Linked DNA regions of Homo sapiens: region 2 is linked to region 1. Evidence: promoter capture Hi-C in human tissues and cell types (Jung and others, 2019). All regions are on one chromosome and are shown on one strand. The core of a region is centred on a gene start or on the middle of the fragment in contact, and the rest is flanking DNA. Distances in the headings are between cores, read along the strand shown.

Region 1 (4,056 bases), core at 568-3,067:
TGCTCCTCCGCCTCTCGGCTGTCCTTCTGCCCACGGCTGGCCCAGACTCTCATGGCGACTCACTGTCTCCCACGCCCCCACTCCCGGCAGGAAACCACTTCAGGGTTTACTGTGGGCTCCGAAATCAGCCTGTGAGTCCTAGTTAGGGTCCCCTGTGCCTGACTCTCCTCTCCCCAGGCTGCAAGAAATAGGGATGACCAGAAGTCAAACTGTGCCCTTGGGAACACCCCACCCCTCACCACTGTCGTGCCAGGAGTCTGTTCCTAAGACCCCTCCCCAAGTCCTGTCTCCTCCTCTTCCTCCCATAAACCACAGCAGACACTCAGCCACCAGGCTGCAGCCCTGCACCTTCTCCAGCAGCCGCTGGCCTTCGCCAGAGTTCTTGAAAGCCCAGTTGTCCTTCCCCAGCCACGTGGAGGCAGACGGATCTCTCCTGGGGGCAGCCTGTAGCTGTCTGTGCAAAGGTTCCCAAGACTAAAGTGTAGAGGACAGGTAAGATGACACTGTCATGATCATCATTCGTCCTGTGCCCTGTGGACATCAACCCACAGATGTGACATCAACCCATCTGATATTGAGCCCAGTGGGTGGGGAGATCCTAACCCAGCTGCTGCTGTTGAGGACTTGGGTGGTGTCTGGCCAGTGGGAGGGGAGGTCAGGCGAGTTTTCAGCAGATGACCCCGTGCTCTTCGGAAGCCCGGAGGTGCCACACTGTACAAGTGTGATGCCTGGGATCCTGTGCTCCCCTGATGCCTGGGAATGGGGTGAAGGAACAGCCTAGGCTTGGGTTCTCTCCTGGGTTGTTTCGGGACTTGGCCCCAGCTCAGGAAGGGTTTGTGGAGGAGCCAAGGAGGGCCTTGTTCCTGTGGGATGTCTTTGCCTTGGGCACAAGGACAGCCTCTTGCTGCTGCTCTGCCCACCGCCCACCCCTTGGCGGCCTCTGGGAGTCTGGGCTGCTCTCCCTCTGGACCTAACCAGTTGCCCAATGGCTGGACCTGCTTAAAGCTCCCTCTTACAACTGGACCAGGCAGCCAGGGGAGGCACTGAGAGGCCGAGCTTCTGAGCTGGTGCCTGTGGATGCTCGACGGTCCCGCAGCTCCCACAATGGGATGGCCAAGCAGACCCTGAGATCCACAGCCCCCCTTTAGTGAAACAGGAGGGAGGTCGCTGGGCACAGGGAGCCGGGAACGCCTGCCCTCCCCGCCATCGACGGCTCCCGAGGCCTGAACCTTCGCTCCAGCCCCAGCACAAGCCGGCCAGGGCGCAGGGCCAAGTGTTGCCCGCCATTCCCCGGGTACCCCATGACCTCCCAGCTGGGGCTGGCTCGGACTGAGGAGTCGTCCCTGCCCGTCACCCTCTGGGGTCTCCAGTGCTGCGGAGCTCAGCTGGCTTTTGCAGCGGTAGGGGCTGGGAGGAGAAGCTGCAGGGAGACCGCAGGCGTGGGACGTTGTGGGGGGTCAGGCTTGCTCTGGGGCTGGGACCCCGGGGGGAGCAGTGGGGTTGACGCCACAGCGATGACTTGGGCCACGGGTCTGGGGGCTCTCCCGCGGGGCGATTGGGCTCTGTCTTTCGGGATTAGGGTCTCTCCCACAGGGTTTGGGGTTCTCTCTGCAGATTTGGGGGAGTCTCTCCCGCGGGATGAGGGGGGGCTCTCCGCCGCACCCGCCTATGATGGCCCAGAGGACCCGAGCTCGGGTCACTCCCGTCGCCCTCGGGGCTCGGCGAGGGTGCAGGAGGCGGGCGCTGAGCCGGTGACGCGACTCCGGGCGGCTCCCGGGTGCGCCGCATATATAGCAGCGGCGGCGGTGGCGGCGGCCACACCGGGCGGCGGACACGTGGAGGGACCCGGCCCGCGCCTTCTGCCCCTGCTGCCGGCCGCGCCATGCGGTGAGCGCCCCAGGCCGCCAGAGCCCACCCGACCCGGCCCGACGCCCGGACCTGCCGCCCAGACCCGCCACCGCACCCGGACCCCGACGCTCCGAACCCGGGCGCAGCCGCAGCTCAAGGTACTACTGGCGCCGGGCCGACCCTGCGCCCCCGGGAGGCCTCCCCTTCGGCTTTCCTCTGCCCAGGGACGGTTCTGCCAGGGCCCTGGCCCGGCCGCCGCCTCTGCTCCTCCCCGCAGCCCCGGCACTCCTTGCCTCGGGGCGCAGCCCACTCCGGGTTCCGACCCGCCCGCCCTGTCCTTCCCTTCCAGATGGCCCGAGGCAGCGCCCTCCTGCTCGCCTCCCTCCTCCTCGCCGCGGCCCTTTCTGCCTCTGCGGGGCTCTGGTCGCCGGTAAGTGCGGGGCGCGTCTCCTCCGAGCGAAGGGGACATCAGAGCCGGCCGGGCGTGGAGGGCTTCCTGGAGGAGGCAGCCTCCGCCCTGCCCGCGGGGATGGGGGTGGAAAGTGGAAAGGCGGGCGCTGTCCTGGCTGCGGGCGTCGCGGGAAGGGTCCGGGGCTCCCTGGGATTCCCCCCGCGCGCTTCTCCGAGTGTATCAACAGCCCCGGGCTATAACCAGGCCGCCGGGAGAGCTCTGCGCTTCGGGTCAGCGCCTCGGGAAAGCGAGAAGCTCGCCCGTTCCGCAGGGCTTAGTTAGAATGGAGGGCTAGGAGCCACTGGCGTGGCCTCAGCGTCACTAAAGCAGGTGCAGTGCGCTGAGAGTGCGCGGGCTCAGGCCCTCAAGTGAAGTATTTCGTAAATAAAGTGGTTCCATTTTCATGTCAAATATAGCCGACTTAGGGGTAAACCTGGAATTTCGCGAGCTATCCAAAAGCACATGCATTGTTCTAAGTCCTCTGCCATGCCGGGAAAGCCTGGGTGCACCCATTCAGCATAGGCTCCAGGCACAGCCCTGGCATCTGATCCCCTTTTCTCCCTTCAAGGCCAAGGAAAAACGAGGCTGGACCCTGAACAGCGCGGGCTACCTGCTGGGCCCACGTAAGTGACTGACAGCATGGCCTCCCCACTCCTGACCCCACCTGCCCCTCGCTTTGAACCCTGGCTCCTGCCCCTCCGCCTGCGGCTGGGCAGACCCTCTGGCCTCCCTCTTGACCTCATTGCCCGTCTCCATTGCTCTGCACACTTGATCTGTGTACGGTTCTTTCCAGAAGCTTCTCCTGCCCCGGCTCTGCCGCCCTGTCCCGGGGTGAGATTCCCACCCTGGGCTTTGCTCAAGTTCTCCTGGGCTTTCCCGCCTTGCAGTCCTTACAGGCCCTGTTCTGGGCCTCTCCCCAGGCCCCCGGGTCTCCCAAAACACTCAACTCCTCGGCTTGCAGAGCACCCTAGGTCAGCGGACCCCAAATCCTGCCTCCCTCTTCCCTTTCTCCAAGCTCCACACGGGAATTGCCAGATCGCCTGAAGGCAGCCCAGACAGGCTCCCCTCAAAACAAGGTTCAGGTGACCCTGCCTGCCCAAGCCTGTGTCCCCTCCCTCTCCCTGTCCTGTTGTTGTCACCTGTGTCAGCGGTGTCCCCTGCTGCCTGAGGTGAGCCCTAGCCCTAGATGGGACACTGCAGGCTGACACCTCCCCGTGTCCGCCCCCGCCCCTGTCCCAGGCCTCTACTTTCTCCACATCCTTGGTCTGTGCAGCAATGCCTTCTGACTTTCCTCCAAAGGAGGGGACAAGAGGAGGCCTTGGTTCCCTCCTGTAACTCACCTTCCCCTCCACACCTCACCATCCACCTTAAAAGCCTCCCTGTACTGCCTTCTGCCAGAGGAAGGATGTGAACAGCACGCAGGGCCTATCTGAGCCCCGCGGAGCAGCAAATGGGGAGAATGGTGCTCTTCTCCCCATGCCAAGGAAAGCTGACTTAGTTCTCAGTCCCAGAGTCGAATACAGCTTCCTCCTCCTGCAGACGCTTGTTTATCGGGGTCACTCAGAGGACCCCCAGAGTCAGGCTTTAAGAAACAGACACGGGGATGACAGAGCCGCCTGAGGCCGCGTGCGGATCGGTCCAGGCTGTTCACCACAGAGCCTGCTGGTCTCTGTGCGGCCCTCTCATCCTCTCCCTGCCCATGGAGTGGCCTGACCTGCCTGAGGGTCGGCTGATTTCCTCAACCCTTTGCAACCCTG
Region 2 (4,056 bases), core at 420-2,919, 84 kb after region 1:
CCGTATAATATGCCATAGATGGCTGGGCGTGGTGGCTCACACCTGTAATCCCAGCACTTTGGGAGGCCAAGGATTGCTTGAGCCTAGGAGTTTGAGACCAGCCTGGGAAACAAGGTGAAACCCCATCTCTACAAAAAACATAAAAATTAGACGGGCCTGGTGGTAAATGCCTATAGTCCCAGCTACCTGGGAGACTGAGGTGGGAGGATCGCCAGCACCCAGGGAGGTCGAGGATGCAGTAAGCCGTGATTGTGCTACTGCATTCCAGCCTGGGCAAGAGTAAGACCCTGTCTCAAAAATATATATACACATATATATGCCTTAGACATCACTTAATAGCTATATAATATTCCGCTGTGTGAAAATACCCTATTTTAATTTAGTATCATGAAAGGAAGATTCACTCTGCCGAAAGGAAAGGATTACACTGAAAGCTTCGTGCAAGAAGCTGCCTTTTTCTTTTGTTCCCAAGCACAGAGTGACGGATAAAAGGCGAAATGTCTCCACTCTGGGTTCACCGGGTTTTGTGTAACAAATATGTAACTGACGATTCCCCTACCGCCCCTTTTCTCTTGCATCATGGGAATTCCGTAACGTGGCCACGCCCTCCCTTCCTTCCCCTCCTGCCTGCTTTTCCTTTTAAATACTGAAGCCCTCAAAACCACCTTTGGAGGAAGGCACAGGCCTGTCTCCCAGGCACGCATCTTTAACCTTGGCAAAATCAACTTCTAAATAAATTGAGACCTGTCTCAGACACTTTCTAGTTTCCAGTCTTTTTTTTTTTTTTTTTTTTTTTTTTTGAGAGGGAGTCTCGCACTGTCACCCAGGCTGGAGTGCAGTGGTGCGATCTCGGCTCACTGGAAGCTCCGCCTCCCGGGTTCACGCCATTCTCCTGCCTCAGCCTCCCGAGTAGCTGGGAGTACAGGCGCCCGCCACCGCGCCCGGCTAATTTTTTGTATTTTTAGTAGAGACGGGGTTTCATCGTGTTAGCCAGGATGGTCTCGATCTTCTGACCTCATGATCCGCCCACCTCAGCCTCCCAAAGTGCTGGGATTACAGGCATGACCCACTGTGCCCGGCCTGCCAGCATTAACTTTTAAGATTTCTTCTTCTTCTTTTTTTATTTTTTGAGACGGAGTTTTGTTCTTATTGCTCAGGTTGGAGTGCAGTGGCGTGGTCTTGGCGGCTCACTGCAACCTCCACCTCCCACGTTCAAGTGATTCTCCCGCCTCAGCCTCTCAAGTAGCTGGGATTACAGGTGTGCACCACCACCCAGCTAATCTTGTATTTTTAGCAGAGATGGGGTTTTACCATGTTGTCCAGGCTGGTCTCGAACTCCTGACCTCAAGTGATCCACCTGCCTAGGCCTCCCAAAGTGCTGGGTTTACAGGCACGAGCCACTGCGCCTGGCCAGATTTCCTCACATTTTTACAGTAAGCTTGCTCACACGTGTTTTTTGTGTACCTACCCTTTTTCATGGATCATGTGCAGGGTCAAAGTTATTCTTCCCCGATGCATGTTTCCAACTGTGTGGTCTGTGCTGCTCCCAGTCCTGCCATGGGGCCCCTAAATTTATTAAAACTATTCCCAGCTGCTCTATGAACATCCCTGCCTCAGTCCACCCTCACCAACATGAAAAAAAGCCTTTACCAACCCCGTAGGCAAAAATCTAGTCTTGTTTAAGTTGTACTTGTTAGATTCTTGGTAAGATTAAGCTTATTACCTACACTCATTGACCGTATTTTTCCTCTCTTGTGAACCACAGTTTCTGGTCTGACTCCTTATTTCTCTTGGATTATTTTTTTCCAAAGGCAACCACTTAGCCAGATTTCCCAGCTCCATTTACTCACCAGCTCCCCGTCCCCTACTGATGTCAAATGCTCCCTCCATTACACGTTATTTCCCAGGCCTGCTTTTGTACGAGGACTGCAGCATTTTATTTTTATTAAAAACAATTTTTTTAAAGATAGGGTCTCACTGTCATCCAGGCTGTAGTGCAGTGGCACGATCACGGCTCACTGCAGCCTCCACCTCCGGGGCTCAAGTGATCCTCCCACCTTAGCCTCCGGAGTACCTTGGACTACAGGCATGCGCCACCATGCTGGGCTAATTTTTTTTTTTTTTTTTTTGTATTTTTTGTACAGATAGAGTCTCCCCATATTGCCCAGTCTGGTCTCAAACTCCTGGACTCAAGTGATCCACCTGCCTCAGCCACCCAAAGTGCTAGGATTATAGGACTGAGACCACTTTAATCACAACAGTCTTCTAACTCCTACACTTTAAGTTTTAGGATTTGAAAAAGTACATGTCCACCTCCCCGTGTCCTGCCTCCGCCTGATTGCTTTTCTTTTCAAAAATGTTACAGGTGACTCTCAAATGTTAGCCTTTTCAAGCCTCAAGATCAACTGGGCAAGCTCCTCTCCTGAAGCCCCTGCCTGACCTCTCACTGTGTTCATATTAAATGTGTGAACTAAGCCAGGCATGGTGGCTCAGGCTTGTAATCCCAGCACTTTGGGAGGCTGAGGCAGGCGGATCACTTGAGGTCAGGAGCTCGAGACCAGCCTGGCCAACGTGGTGAAACTCCGTCTCTACTAAAGATACAAAAATTAGCCAGGTGTGGTGGCAGGCACCTGTAGTTTCAGCTACTCGAGGGGCTGAGGCAGGAGAATCACTTGAACCTGGGAGCCGAGTGAGCAGCCGAGGCTGCAGTGAGCCGAGATCGTGCCACTGCACTCCAGCCTGGGCAACAGAGTAAGGCTCCGTCTCAAAAAAAAAAAAACAGTGTGAACTGGGAACATCCCTTCCTCTATGGTTCTGAAGTTTTTTTTCATCCAAAATCATGGCTTTTTCTCCCTCTCCCTGGGGAGGAGTTGGGGGGCGAGTGCTCCTCGGCCTTCTTCCCAGAGTCCAGTCTGCTTTATACACGTATGCCTGGAAGGTGGGGCCCCAGATTCTCGTTTCTATTACATTCTCTTATTATATTTCCCACTTGGCCATCATCCTTGTGCAAGAAAGCTGGTGGTCTTTGTGCAACTCTGCGCTGGGCCGGCTCACTGGGTGTGCCTCTTAATCGTCAAAGCCTTTCTGCTGTTCCATCTCCTGAACAGACATAAATGTTCTTCCTGCCCAATTACCCTGTCATCTGCTAGAGGCATCCTCATCTTTCTTGTTTTAAGGGGACTGCCTCCCACACTTTTACTTTGAAGCAGTAGCTAGCTATTAATACACGATGCCACTTATCCTGTTAAGGAAAGAGCCCTATTACTAAGCCCCTTGACCAAGAGCTCTTATCAGGAATGGATGTTAAACGTGAAACGTCTTCTTAGGATCTGTGAAACTCACTATCTAGGCTCTTCTCTGACCCAACAGTATGGTTTAGTGTATGACTGGATTTACTGACACAAAACCAGCCTCTCACCGCTGGTGTACGCCACTGTGGGTGACTATTCTTTTCCTACAGTGCTGGATTCTAGTTGCTAAGATTTTATGGAGGGTCTCTGCACTTCCATTCATGCGGGAAGCTGGTCTGTGCTTCCTTTTTCTGCGTTTAGCTGCAGCACAGTGATGAGAGCCACAGGTTCTCGAACAAGCCTGCCTGCTTCCGATCTCAGTCCTGCTGCGTACGAGCTGGAGCCCTCAGGCAAGATGCTTCACCTCCGAGTGTGGAGGGCAGAGATGAAGAGATGCCTTCCTCGGGGCCGTCCTGAAGTTTCGCTCGCTCCTGCCAAGTACATGGCACAGTGGCTGGTGCCCCTTGCAGCTCATTCCCACACCTGGGCCACGTGGGTTCTGGGGAGCAGATGGGGTGGCTTCCTTTGTGGAGTCTCTGAGCTGCAAGCTCTTTGGAGTCACAAGGGTGGCTCCCTGACAACCTCTCACTTTGGTCCCTGGACCAGAGGCCTTTTCAGGTTTTCTACCTTGAGTCAACGTCACCAATTTGTACTGCTTGCAGAATAGTCATTTCAGCATGTTTCAAAATGTACTAAACTGGAGCGTGGCATTTCCTTACTAAACTCCTAAGTCCTGCGCTTACTTGCAGGGAATTCTTTTAAAAAA

What was found. Contacts are between HindIII fragments. The study calls those that stand out against the background at their distance.
Region 2: a contact is called between a fragment that was not itself captured here and the fragment with the promoter of GAL in region 1, in 2 of the 25 tissues and cell types used here (H1 embryonic stem cells and dorsolateral prefrontal cortex).

The regions. Positions count from the first base shown.
Region 1 is chr11:68,682,727-68,686,782 of GRCh38, forward strand. GAL (galanin and GMAP prepropeptide) reads left to right here and starts at 1,818. Exons shown (of 6, transcript NM_015973.5): 1 at 1,818-2,006; 2 at 2,198-2,278; 3 at 2,868-2,922. The coding sequence starts at 2,198. The region is part of intron 2 of LOC107984343 (a long non-coding RNA gene); the gene reads right to left. RefSeq lists enhancers at 537-1,212, 1,889-2,564. The HindIII fragment of the contact is 15,033 bases long and covers 1-4,056 here.
Region 2 is chr11:68,767,294-68,771,349 of GRCh38, forward strand. The region is part of intron 14 of CPT1A (carnitine palmitoyltransferase 1A); the gene reads right to left. Among named protein-coding and RNA genes, the nearest start is that of TESMIN, 18 kb to the left of the region's middle. The HindIII fragment of the contact is 3,881 bases long and covers 1-3,610 here.